Linked DNA regions of Homo sapiens: region 1 is linked to region 2. Evidence: promoter capture Hi-C in 16 types of primary human blood cells and fetal thymus (Javierre and others, 2016). All regions are on one chromosome and are shown on one strand. Each heading gives the region's core, a stretch centred on a gene start or on the middle of the fragment in contact. The rest is flanking DNA. Distances are from core to core; before and after follow the strand shown.

Region 1 (7,011 bases), core at 119-2,618, 35 kb after region 2:
CTTGTGATAAAGCTTCCTGGATATAATACTCCCAGTTATGAGTTGAGAAGATAAATATATTAAAACTTTTTTTTTCAGAGCAGTGCTTATGATTTGTATAGCTAATTGCTACAAATCTGTAACTAAATCCAAACTTATAGTAGGTCAACGCATAAAAGTTACAGTCAGTTTTGTAACCTTGCCTTTGGTTTTTGTTTGTTGGCTTTTTACCTAAAATAATAATAATTTTAAGAGATAATAAATACCTGTCCACGTTCATCCTATCTGGCCTATAACAATTAATTGGCTGTAAGTCTTTTTACTCTTAAGGTCCTTGGCCATAGGGACTTCCACCGAGGGACAGGATGGACCCAGGGAGGGCAGCCCTGCCACCCCAGCAACGCTATGAGAGAAAATAAAAATTTACTGGCTAAATAAATAAATAAACAAATAAATTTACTGGCTATTGATGTTGCCTCTGGCAAATCTTGTCAAGAAGGAGGAGAATGTAAACCAAAAATAAAATTCTAAGCACCACCCCCAAAACATCTGAACGGACTTCCTCCTAGGCCAGGGCACACTTAAAATTTAACCTGAGGGACTGGTTCAGGCCATGATGGGAAGTGCGGTTCAGACGTGCCTCATTGTACCTCTCTGGCATTCACATCAACACAGACCTTAAGTCTGATAAACATTTACAATCTTTTCTCTCTGAAGCCTTCCTCTGCACAATAAGAACTTTGGTGTCCACAGTTCTTTATCTTAACCCAGACATTTCCTTTCTATTGATCCCAGGTCTTTAGATTAAACTCAACCAATTGTCAACCAGAAAATTTTTAAATCTACCTGTAACCTGGAAGCCCCCTCCCGCTAGTTCAAATTGTCCCACCTTTCTGGACCGAACCAATGTATTTCTTAAATGTATTTGACTGAAGTGTCATGTCTCCCTAAAATGTATAAAACCAAGCTGCATCCTGACCACCTTGGGCTCATGTTCTTAGGACTTCCTGAGGGCTGTGTCATGGGCCATGGTCACTCATATTTGGCTCAGAATAAATCTCTCCAAATATTTTACAGAGTCTGCCTCTCTTCATTGACACTATTAAATTATTAATGAGACTATGATTGGTATTACTTGATCAGTTAACAACTTGTGAATGCTACATATGAAATATAAACTATGAAATACCTTATGAAATAGTGTAAAGTTGATATCATCAACACATGGCAACATCACAAGAGACAGAATCATGGAACACCAGATTAAACAGGGCTATTCTTTCTTTAGTAGGAGAGGAATTGTCTCATCCATCCATAAAGTCCAACTAGGCCACCCACCTGCAGATCATCTCAGTCAGTTCACAACAAAGTACCTGACCGTTATGAATCCAACTGGGAAGAAGTTGGTCCCGGTGAGGCACCTGTGGTTCCTAGAAGCAGGGTCATGGCCCTGAGTCCCCAAGGCAACCAATATATCAGGGAGATCTGTCTCCCTTAGGAAATGCAGGGTGAGGTTTTCCCTAAGGGTCAGGCTTGGAAGTTGGTTGGAAGAGTTGGTGCCTATCTTCTGGGTATTGTCCAGTTTGCACCAGAAACACACCCTGTCTTCAAACTAAGAACACCTGTTGGTGTGCCATTTTCATGCTTCCATGGGACAGGAGTGTTCATAGGTTTAGACTTCTTTCCTGTCCTCAGCCCAGGACACCAGCCTCTTTGCCTCTACCTGCTCTGCCTTCCTTATGGGTTTGGGTAGCTCTTCTTTTCATTCACCATAGTGCCATCATCCCTGTCCATGCTCTGCTCATCCGAGATACTCCAGGGTATGTTCCCTTCCTCGCATTCCATTTATAGGGTGGTGGGGTGGGGGGGTGGTAGCCAGAGGGGGTGTGGAGGTTAACAGGGGAGAGATCATAACATGTTTGTGGAGTGATAGGGATGATTCATATATAGTGTAGGCCAGTGATTCAGTGTCAGTTTTCTCCATGGTAATGAGCCAGTTCTCCAAATGTTAATGTTTTAAAGACACAGTGTTGGGAGAGGAAATCTGCTGGGAGCCCTGAGCATTCCTTTATGCTTTTGCGGAGTACACCAATAATTCAAAGTCCCCCACTCTTTACCTGGGAGATTTCTCAGAGTTCTCTTTTAGTGAGCAACAAACAGGGATGCTTGAGGGATGAGGTAACACCCCCCACAGAGAGCATGATTGCTCCCACTCCCAAGAAAGACATAGGATCTCCCAAGCTCAGTGTTCCTCTCTTGTAACACAATTCTCAGCAAGTGTGAGCATCCACGCAAGTCCACCTTCATCACCCCCGTGGGGCTTGGAGGGCATACAGAGCCAGTGCAAACAGGAGGCTCTGGCAACTACTTTTGTTGAAAGGAATAAAGTCCTTTGCCTCTGACCCAGAGGGTTTCTGTCTTCTGCCAGAATGTCAATCTGTGGCAAATGAACTTGTAAACTTGCAAGTAGGTTAAAATCATAGGCCCTCTACCATTCTTGACACATAGATTTAAACTTATCAGTACTAAACCTCATCAGAGTGCGCAAGTTCTCTGCTTCCCTTTGCAATTTGCATCAAAGTCAACTCCACTAATATGGTCTTCATGGTCTTCCAGGCCCTGCATAGCCTGGCCCTGCCTACCTCTCCAGGATCTTGTGCCAGTTGTGTCCAAATCTCTCTGCTTTTGAGTCATATGGGGAAAAATTTGTCCCTGACATCTGGGCACTGGTATGACACTTACAATTAAGCTTCCATGTTGCTAGTAGCATGGCCTCTTGCCGATGGCTAGACCATGTTGTTCTCCAGATAGACATAAATACCAGAATCACCCAATCAAATCCCAAATCCCATAACAGATTCTTTCTATCATGATCTTTCTGAAACACCATTGTTCTTCCTGACATGCATTGTCCTTTATTGCCATGAATAGTAAACCCAACTTATTTAACTACTTGTGCATTCCTGGCACTCTTTGGCTGGAGGACATTGGCATATACACATGCTGATCTTCTTCCAGTTTATCAACATTCCATTTTCTTTCCTGCCACAGGCACTTTGCACATACTATTCCTTCTGCCTAGAACATTGTTCTCTTCACCTCCTTGACCTTGCTAGCCCCTCCCCATCTTGAAGTTCTCAGCATAAATATCACTTTCTTTAGGATGTTTTCCCAACTCCTTCGGCAAAATCTGGGTGTATTCTCTGATAGTGTGTTAGGTTTTTCCCATTATATACACTTTTCTAATTTGTAATATACATTTGTTTGTGTTACTGTTTATTTATTTAATATCTTTAAGGGTAGATACCAGTCTTCTTTGCTTATTGCTATAGCCCAGCATCTATTAGGAGGCCTAGTACATTGTGGGCACTCAGTATTCATCATTTCTTTATTCTACAAATAATTATTGCATTGATCTAGGATCCAAAGTTAAAACTGTCCAAGTCCTGGTCCTCATGGAGATTCCATTTTAGTCAGAAAAGATAACATAAGAAATGACTAAGTCCCTTAACAAATATTTATTGAGCAACTCCTAGAAACTGCACATTGTTCTGGAAGGTAGGGATGCGGCAGAGAACAAACCTGATACAATTTGTATTCTCTCAGACTTTACATTTTGTTTTACATATGTTCATGTTAGTGTATATTTATATATTAATAGATCTATATGAGGTTTAGTACTGATAAGATTTCGTGTAAAATAAACATGGTATGGTGATAGAGAATTAGAGTGGGTGCCATTTTTGGTATGATAGTCAAGGTCTCTCTGAAAAGTTGATATATGACCTGTGGAAAAATAGAAAATGCCGTCATTTGATCATGTGAGCCCTTGATGTTCATTGTAGTAAGTTTTTTATCTGAGCAAGGTGGAGAGCCATTGGAGATTGTTGAGCAAAGTAGGAAATTAACTTACATTTGAACAGGATTTCTCTGGCTGTTGTGAGGAGTACTGACTCAAGAGTGGAAGGTGAGGGACTACAGTGATAGGGAAATTAGGTAAAAGGCTACTCAATTACTCAAATGAGAAATGATGGTGGCTTAGATCATGATGCTGCGGCACATATGGAGATGCACCTCTGGAATCCTTTAAAGTGGGACTTGCCATCCAACTGAGAAAAGTGTGGTTAGCTGACAAATTCCACTTGTTAGCTACTTCAGGATCTTCAAATACTTCAAATTTTGAAATTTTGTATGTGCGCAGTGTCTCATGCCTGTAATTCTAACACTTTGGGAGGCAGAGATGGGAGGATAGCTTGGTTTAGGAGCTCAAGACCAGCCTGGGCAACATAGCAGGAACTCGTCTCTACAAAAAAATTTTTTTTAATTAGCCAGGCATGATGGCATGAACCTGTGGTCCTAGCTACTCAGGAGGCTGAGATGGAAGGATCACTTGGGGCCAGAAAGTTGAGGCTGCAGTGAGCCATGATCATGCCACTGCACTCCAGCTGGGTGACAGCGAAACCCTGCCTCAAAATTGAATTTTTTATCTTTTCCTGGGCTAGTGATATGCAGTATGATACTCTCCCATGTTGCTGGGCAGTGGCAATGAGCCACAGTTCCCAGCCAGCCAAATAATCCCAATGGTAAACAAATAATACTATACAGTGTACTGTATTCAACAAACTTATATGAAATATCCACCACCTTATTATAGAATATGTATTATGTTAGATTATTTTGGCCAACTTTATGCTAATGTAAGTGTTCTGAGTGCACTTAGGGTAGACTGGGCTAAGCTGTGATGCTCAGTAGGTTAGGTATATTATATGCATTTTTTACTTATAATATTTTTAAATTACACTGAGCTTATCTAGATGTAAACCCATGGTAAGTTGAGGAGCATCTGTAATAAATCTCTTTATATATCTCATATTGGTTCAGTTTCTCTGAAAAACTCTGACTAATACAGTCCCAAATAAAATTTTGACACTCCTAACTCTGTCTCATTATCTGCATCCCAATGAACCCAGTCTGTGACAGAGGTTAATAGAGGATAGGAGAAGTGTACAGATTCAGGATACATTTGAAGATAGAGCTGACAGAATGTGCTGATGAATCAGATATGCCATGTAAGACAAATATTTATTAAATGTTTCTTAAACAAATATGTGATAGATATTACCACTCTTCACCAATTTTGAATCTGGGAAATTCTGCACAAAGGGGAATGTCACATTTTCTTGTCCTCTTGAAGTTAGAGGTAGCAATGTTCTTTTCTCTGGTAAATGAAATATGAATGAAATTTTAAAAATGGTCACTTCCTTTTGGGAGCAATTAAGAATTGTTGAGTGTTTCTCCATGCTTTCTTCTCCCTACTCCTATAACTGGTAAAGTTCAGAGAGTATAGTCTCCATCATTATGAGTGCCTGAATGAGCTCAATGTGGATCACATACCCCTTCTGATTCATGATAAACAAGTACAGTGAACAAGAAACAAACATTGGTGTGTTAAGCTACTGAACAAGAAAATGTTATGTTTTATTACAAGGGCCTAATCTAGCTTAACCTGACTGAAATAGCTGTTGGTGCTGGAAGTGAAGTGCTACAGAGACAAAACCCATAAGAACCTAAATGACATTGACTAAGCAGTCGGGTGGTGAGGAAAAATTCATTGAGAATTCAGAGATATTAAGAACATTGTTTATGTTCACACATCTGGTAAATGGGAGAGGTGAATTTGAATGCAACTCTACTTGACTCTAAAGTCTACGTCATTTGTCGCTATAGCCTCTCAGTTTTGGCTTATGTGGTTGGATAGTGGTAATCTGTCTTTAACTGATACATTTATTCTTTCAATAAATATTATTTGTAGTAATATTGACTATGTTCTAGGCACTGTGCTAGACAGGCAGAGGAACATATAAATCAGTAAGTGAATTTTTAGTCATGTTGAGTTTTACCTGACTTCGGGACTGCTGGATGGAGAGAATGGTCCAGTAAAAATTAATTAATTAATTAATGTGACGAATGTGTCAAGCATTTATACAGTTTGTGTTACTGCTGGGGCTGGAGTGGTGAGAAAATCCCTCTTAATCATGGTTTCTAATTCTTTTTATACATCTTTGGGTTCTATTTTTAATATTTTGTTGGGTTTTTAAAAAACATCTAGGTTCATTCAAAATAATGGTCTGGCTGGGCACGGTGGCTCACACCTGTAATCTCAGCACTCTGGGAGACTGAAGCCGGAGGATTACTTGAGCCCAGGAGTTTGAGACCAGCCTGGTTAACATAGCAAAACCCTGTCTCTCCAAAAATACAAAAAATTAGCCAGGCATGGTGGTGTGCTCCTGTGGTTCCAGCTATTTGAGAGCCTAAGGCAGGAAGATCTGTTAAGCCTGGGAGATGGAAACTGCAGTGAGCCGTGATTGTGCCACTGCAGTCCAGCCTGGGTGACAGAGTGAAACCCTGTCTCAAATAATAATAATAATAATAATAACCTGTAGTTTTCCCCTTTTGTACTGCTTTTGTTTGGTTTTGGAATTAGGATAATACTTAAATCATAAAATGATCAGGAAGTGTTGCCTCCTCTTTTATTTTCTAGAAAAGATTGTGTATATTGGTTTTAATTATTCTTTAAACGTTTGGTAGACTTCTCCAGTTAAACCATCTTCGCATGGAGACTCCTTTTTCTGAAGCTTTCAATTTAAAAATTCAATATCTTTCATGGTTATAGGATTGTCAGATTATGTATTTTATCTTGGTTGGGTTTTGGTAAGTTGTGATTTTTTGAGGAATGTGTCTTTTTCTTCTATGCCATCAAACGAATGAACATAAAGTTGTCCATACTATTACTTATTATCTTTTTAATTATGTAAGCTCTACAGTGGTATCCCATTTCATTCCCGATATTGGTGATTTGTGCTTTTTTATTTTGTTTTTCTATCAAGAGGTTTATTAATTGTACTGGCTTTTTTGTCATAGAACTTCCTTTTGGTGATGTTTGCAGTGTATATCTTTTTCCATGCTTTCACTTTAATCTACCTATGTCATTTAATTTGAATTGAGTTTCTTGTAAATGGTAGCCTATCTTCT
Region 2 (7,461 bases), core at 641-3,140:
CCATTCTAGGTTCACACAATGTCCAAGAAGGCTCCAGCACTTGTGTGGAGGGTCTCTCTGCACATTCTACCTCTCAGTTCTTCCTGTTTATTGTGAATAGGTGTGCACATTCTCTTTATGTCACTGTAAATAATTAATCCATAACCGGAGGCAAAAAGAATGAAGGTGTGGAAACAGTACAGAGCTAGTATAATAGTGGCAGCCCCAGAGTGAAAACATCAAGGGTCCAAGTCTGTCTTTTTTCCTACCCCTAAAGTCTGGAGAACACAATTCTCAAGTTATAATCAGGTACTTGGTTTTATAATATTTTGCTTTGTTGTTGGATTTAAATATCCAACTATGAGGCCAGGCGTGGTGGCTCATGCCTGTAATCCCAGCACTTTGGGAGGCCGAGGCAGGTGGATCACCTGAGGTCAGGAGTTCAAGACCAGTCTGGCCAACATGGTGAAACCCTGTCTCTACTAAAAATATATATTAAGAAAAATTAGCTGAGCTTGGTGGCGGACGCCTGTAATCCCAGCTACTCAGGAAGCTGAGGCAGGAGAATTGCTTGAACCCAGGAGGCAGAAGTTGCAGTGAGCTGAGATCATGCCACTGCACTCCAGCCTGGGCAACAAAAGTGAAACTTTGTCTCAAAATAAAAAAATAAATCCATCTATGTGACACCATCTTGTACTAAGCAGATTGTTTGGACTGAATAGTCTTTCTAGGTATGTCACAAAACCTGAATTCATAAAAGCAAAAGGTGACAGATTTGAGTACATGAAGACTAAAAACAGATTCAGAGAATAAGTTTGTATTTTCTATGTCAGTTTGCACTAAATTAATTTACAAACAAGGTCGCTGAGGCTTTGACTCAACTGTTAACACTTTCTGAGAGTGAGATTCTTTTGATTAGGGTCTTAAGGTCTTTGTTCATCTCAGAAGTCTTAATTGGTTTAATTAGGCTGACACCTACAGCCCTGTCTCATTACCATAAACTGTAGAGGGGTTCAACATGACACTGATTGTTTCTTAGAGCAAAGCCAGTGCAGTGAGTAGGATTCCAGGCCCCCCGGAATGAAGCAGGAAAACCCGAGGCCTGTGGATGCAGGATGTACTAGGGAGGTGCTGGGGAGTAGTGCAGATAAACCCAGAATTCAGTTGGTTGGTAAAACAAGAGTGATCTGAGTCCTGTGCTTGTCTACGTGATCCACCATTGAATGGCAGGCCAGCCATTGTGCAGGCATCTGCATATGAAGTGACTGGAAGCTTCACTGGAACAAGGATCTCCTTGGAAATTCTCTCCCCTCAGACAGCCAGGGTGCTTAACATGAAAAGAAGTTGTAACCCTATCCTTAAACTATAGAAGCCATCAGCAGAAGTTACAGGCTTATGGGGGCCCACTGGAAAGGGAAAATCAAAAGGCCTGTGGATTTCAAATTAATGAGTGATCTTAAGTTGCATTTCCTAAGTTCGGCTACAGACTCATATATTTCATGAGTCCCTCCCTACCCATTCCTTGCCTCTCCCTTCAGTTGCTGGGTTTCTGAATTTCTGTATAGTTAACCCTTATCTTGCCTCCCATTTGTTCAATAGAAATGATCACTTTTACTTGAATCTTTTGGTAGAATTGTATACCATGTGTTCCTGTCTAGGTTTAATCATCAGATTGTGGTCAAATTGCTCTGCCAGACTGTGTGAACAAAAAAGTGAATGGAAATTTTCGTTTTAAAAAATAATACTTTTGGACTTAGCCCGTGGCTAAGAAGAAGTAAGGAAGCCAAGCGTACGGATAGCAGCGAGGGGTCAATCCACGCCCGGCGTTGGGTCGGGGGTGGAGGAGTCGGAAGTGGTTGGGGTTTGGGGGAGGAGATCCGCTCACACACAAGAGGAGAGTGTTGAGCCGCCATATCTGCTGCTGCCGCCGCAGTTGCGAATGCAGCATCGGCGCTTAGCTGCCTCCGCGGTGCAGCTAAGGTTCGTGTCGCTACCCCTTGGCCCTTCGCTCTTGCTGCCTTAACCCCGCCGGCGGAGCCCGCTCTTCTGGCCTGTTGAGCCCGCTCCCTCACTGCCACACAGCAAGTTCCGAGACCATGGATTCGGGCAGCAGCAGCAGCGACTCGGCGCCCGATTGCTGGGACCAGGTGGACATGGAATCCCCGGGGTCGGCCCCGAGCGGGGATGGAGTCTCCTCTGCGGTGGCCGAGGCCCAGCGCGAGCCCCTCAGCTCGGCTTTCAGCCGTAAGCTCAACGTCAACGCCAAGCCCTTCGTGCCTAACGTACACGCCGCGGAGTTCGTGCCGTCCTTCCTGCGGGGCCCGACTCAGCCGCCCACCCTCCCGGCCGGCTCCGGCAGCAACGATGAAACCTGCACCGGCGCGGGATACCCTCAAGGTAAAAGGATGGGACGGGGGGCACCTGTGGAACCTTCCCGAGAGGAACCGTTAGTGTCGCTTGAAGGTTCCAATTCAGCCGTTACCATGGAACTTTCAGAACCTGTTGTAGAAAATGGAGAGGTGGAAATGGCCCTAGAAGAATCATGGGAGCACAGTAAAGAAGTAAGTGAAGCCGAGCCTGGGGGTGGTTCCTCGGGAGATTCAGGGCCCCCAGAAGAAAGTGGCCAGGAAATGATGGAGGAAAAAGAGGAAATAAGAAAATCCAAATCTGTGATCGTACCCTCAGGTGCACCTAAGAAAGAACACGTAAATGTAGTATTCATTGGCCATGTAGACGCTGGCAAGTCAACCATCGGAGGACAGATAATGTTTTTGACTGGAATGGTTGACAAAAGAACACTGGAGAAATATGAAAGAGAAGCTAAGGAAAAAAACAGAGAAACCTGGTATTTGTCCTGGGCCTTAGATACAAATCAGGAGGAACGAGACAAGGGTAAAACAGTCGAAGTGGGTCGTGCCTATTTTGAAACAGAAAGGAAACATTTCACAATTTTAGATGCCCCTGGCCACAAGAGTTTTGTCCCAAATATGATTGGTGGTGCTTCTCAAGCTGATTTGGCTGTGCTGGTCATCTCTGCCAGGAAAGGAGAGTTTGAAACTGGATTTGAAAAAGGTGGACAGACAAGAGAACATGCGATGTTGGCAAAAACGGCAGGGGTAAAACATTTAATAGTGCTTATTAATAAGATGGATGATCCCACAGTAAATTGGAGCATCGAGAGATATGAAGAATGTAAAGAAAAACTGGTGCCCTTTTTGAAAAAAGTAGGCTTCAGTCCAAAAAAGGACATTCACTTTATGCCCTGCTCAGGACTGACCGGAGCAAATATTAAAGAGCAGTCAGATTTCTGCCCTTGGTACACTGGATTACCATTTATTCCGTATTTGGATAACTTGCCAAACTTCAACAGATCAATTGATGGACCAATAAGACTGCCAATTGTGGATAAGTACAAAGATATGGGCACTGTGGTCCTGGGAAAGCTGGAATCCGGGTCCATTTTTAAAGGCCAGCAGCTCGTGATGATGCCAAACAAGCACAATGTAGAAGTTCTTGGAATACTTTCTGATGATACTGAAACTGATTTTGTAGCCCCAGGTGAAAACCTCAAAATCAGACTGAAGGGAATTGAAGAAGAAGAGATTCTTCCAGGATTCATACTTTGTGATCCTAGTAACCTCTGCCATTCTGGACGCACGTTTGATGTTCAGATAGTGATTATTGAGCACAAATCCATCATCTGCCCAGGTTATAATGCGGTGCTGCACATTCATACTTGTATTGAGGAAGTTGAGATAACAGCGTTAATCTCCTTGGTAGACAAAAAATCAGGAGAAAAAAGTAAGACACGACCCCGCTTCGTGAAACAAGATCAAGTATGCATTGCTCGTTTAAGGACAGCAGGAACCATCTGCCTCGAGACGTTCAAAGATTTTCCTCAGATGGGTCGTTTTACTTTAAGAGATGAGGGTAAGACCATTGCAATTGGAAAAGTTCTGAAATTGGTCCCAGAGAAGGACTAAGCAATTTTCTTGATGCCTCTGCAAGATACTGTGAGGAGAATTGACAGCAAAAGTTCACCACCTACTCTTATTTACTGCCCATTGATTGACTTTTCTTCATATTTTGCAAAGAGAAATTTCACAGCAAAAATTCATGTTTTGTCAGCTTTCTCATGTTGAGATCTGTTATGTCACTGATGAATTTACCCTCAAGTTTCCTTCCTCTGTACCACTCTGCTTCCTTGGACAATATCAGTAATAGCTTTGTAAGTGATGTGGACGTAATTGCCTACAGTAATGAAAAATTAATGTACTTTAATTTTTCATTTTCTTTTAGGATATTTAGACCACCCTTGTTCCACGCAAACCAGAGTGTGTCAGTGTTTGTGTGTGTGTTAAAATGATAACTAACATGTGAATAAAATACTCCATTTGAAACTCTTCGGTTATTTGAAATGCTTTTGAATAATGTTTAAATGTCATTATGTAATGCTATTCAATTAGCTTTATTACTTTCTCAAATAGTTGAATATGTTCTATCACTTAAAAACTTAAAAACTCTTCACCACTTACTGTTTTAAGTGAGGAATTTACAAACAATGCATAAGTGTGTATTAAAGGAATAATTTTAATTTTGAGAAAAAAACGTATGTTAAGGCTCTTCCCAGTGGGCTTTGTTTTCTCTGTCCAAGTCCAGTCAATAAAGGAGCTCTTCTGCTTCCCCACTTGTGATTTGAAAATGAAAGGCTCAGGCCGTCTTTATTTGTATAGCAGTAGTTCATGTAACATTATCCATAGGTTCTTGAAGACTACAACATTAAGCAAAACAATGTACAGCAGGTGTACATCGTACAACAATGCACAATGTATGACATTGTTCAATGTTGTTATGACATTGTTCAATGTTGTTATGACATTGTTCAATGTTGTTATGACCTTGTTCAATGTTGTTTAGTTATGACATTGTTCAATGTTGTTTAGTTATGACATTGTTCAATGTTGTTTAGTTATGACATTGATAAGGGGAAAAATTCATTTTGTTAGATGTTATTTCACTTGAAGTCACAATTTCCAAGAACCAGTGGACTATGTTAAGTGAGGACTTACTGTATTCCATCAGGTCCCATCACGTTAAGCATGGCCAAATTATAGGAGATTTGGACCATAGGTTTACAAGACTCTTTATTTTTTTAAAAGACAGGGTCTCACTCTGTCACCCAGGCTGGAGTGCAGTGGTGCAGTCATGGCTCACTGCAGCCTCAACCTCCCAGGCTCAAGCAATCCTCCCATCTCAGCCCCCCAAAGTGGTGGGATTACAGGCGTGAGCCACTGTGCCCAGCCTTGGCTAGACTCTTAACTGTACTCCATCATCTTAACAAACACAGCTCTTGGTTTTGTTCACCATGAAACTTGTGATATGGGTCACAACCCAATAAGGGGTATGGCTATTGAGAAGATAAATGCTTGCAATGGGGCCTTTGGTCATTGAGTAAAAACTAAGGATTAGTGACTCCTGGGCTGGGAAATGAGATGATGTCACCTTTGTCTCTTTCATGCTTGGGTTGATAGGAAAGGTGGGAAGTCATTTTTAAATTCAGATCATGACCTACACTTGGGGTCAGAGGCACTGGATACTTCTCTGAACAACTTCTTGAGGAAAACACCAATTATGGATTCTGAGGTGGCTACATTTATTGGCAAGAGAGTGGCCTTATAACCTGCAAATAACTGTCAACAACTAAAGAACCTTCTGTCTTATTAAGTGGGTAGTGCCTTAGGCACAGCAGTATACCTGGAGAGAGAGACAGTTTGCTTTGCTGTCAAACCTCATACTCATGAGCTAGTTGAATAGGTGTGGGGACTGCTGGCACAACACCCTGGGCTCATTCATGCTCAGGTAAAGGCAATGTATCCTTCTACATTGTCCCTTTGTGTGTACATGTACCTCCAGGGTGTCTAACCTGTCAGAGATAGCCACACTGGTCTTGTTGGAGCATCAGTATTTTGGCTGTACTGCCCATAGGTCTTCAGGGCACCCATGTGGGAAATGAGGATTTTTATTTTGTCATACATAAGCTAACCTAATCCACACGGATGTGCCTCATACGTCTTGGACCCAGTTTTTTAATCATTAGAATGTCAATGGCAAGAGTTTTATTTTTATCATAAGAGCTCTATGCACTGAACCTCATACAAAATACAAACCATCCAGTACTTGGTAAGTTTTGCCCTGGAAGCCACTTTATAAGCAATTATTTTTGCTGCTGCATCAATCTCATTGTTTTGTAATTTTAGTGATTTACCAGTAGTATTTTGTGGCTGTGTTCCACTGATAGGCCAAAACCACAAGCCAGGACAGAACTCTTTGTCTCCATCCAATTTGGATGATTTCCCATCAAAAACTGGCTCCTAAATGTCTTTCTCATTAGCCAATTGTTTAGCAATTTCCCTACCAGACATTCTGAACTGTTTATATATAAATACAAAAACCTTCAGAGAAAAAGACAATTTTTGGAAATAGATTTTAGAAACCAATTATTTGCATTTCAGTGAGAAGCAGATCATCCAGGTGCTTGGAGATACTGGACTGTCTCTTTAACAAAGTAGATACAAATTCGTGGTAACATTTCTTTCTAACTTCCTGGATACATTTCTTTATAGTTGTTGATATCTGATGGTGTTCTCCAATACTCCAAATTGGGGCCATTCACAGAGTACTAGTTTCCCTAGGGCATCCAACTATTTATAAAAACCATGTTCAGGGCAGTTTCCTTTCAGAGATCCCCTATTTCCTCTAATTCAGGTCAGTTTGATTTAACTGTCCTCAGAGTTTCATCTCCAATTCCTAGCAGCCAAGATAATATGGAATCTTCTCAAATCTGGTTGCATACTGTAAGTACTTTATGAGGTTCCTACTTCAGGCTTTCTCAGTGTCTACCCATTTGTTCTTGGCAATTTTTCTCCCAATTTTCCTTCTTTATTCCTCTGGTCATTATGGGACAAGTCTGAGGAGATTTAAGGAAAGGGGCCAACTTATTCTATACTTCAGCAAAGACCTGAAAAGGAAAAAAGGGGGAATGTTTGGGCTGGATAGAAGGTAGTAGACCACATTGCTCACTTTGAGCATCTTTCCCTAGTACCTAGGAAAAACAGCCAGTGCTTTTACTATCCACTAAAGCCTCTGTTCCTGTCCTCAAAAGACAAATCCTCTCTCAAAATAGACCCTCCTTTCACAATATCATGATTTTGATTCATTGCAGTGCAAGAACTTGCCCTTTTTATCATTTACTTATAAACATTTTGCGGTATACATACTCATTTTAGTAAAATGGGGCTGTAAACAAACTATCCAACAACCACATAAGTTCTGTCAAAACCTGAGCATTTGAGTTGCTCCAGTGCCTGTTTTCATGTCCAATATTACTCTTTCTATATTTTCTGTTAAGACAATTGCCATTTTTTTTATTTTTCTAGTTTTCAGTTACAGCATCTACTCATTGGCCATTGAGAGGAAGGAGAA

The links. The method cuts DNA at HindIII sites, captures the fragments that hold promoters and counts their contacts. A CHiCAGO score of 5 or more calls a contact.
Region 1: a fragment that was not itself captured here is called in contact with the fragment with the promoter of GSPT2 in region 2 in 1 of 17 cell types (fetal thymus); the score reaches 5.2 in fetal thymus.

Annotation. Positions count from the first base shown.
Region 1 is chrX:51,777,320-51,784,330 of GRCh38, forward strand. No RefSeq gene overlaps it. Among named protein-coding and RNA genes, the nearest start is that of GSPT2, 37 kb to the left of the region's middle. The HindIII fragment of the contact is 2,716 bases long and covers 11-2,726 here.
Region 2 is chrX:51,741,552-51,749,012 of GRCh38, forward strand. It overlaps GSPT2 (G1 to S phase transition 2), which reads left to right and starts at 1,891. Exons shown (of 1, transcript NM_018094.5): 1 at 1,891-4,681. The coding sequence starts at 2,076. The coding sequence ends at 3,962. The HindIII fragment of the contact is 6,668 bases long and covers 1,250-7,461 here.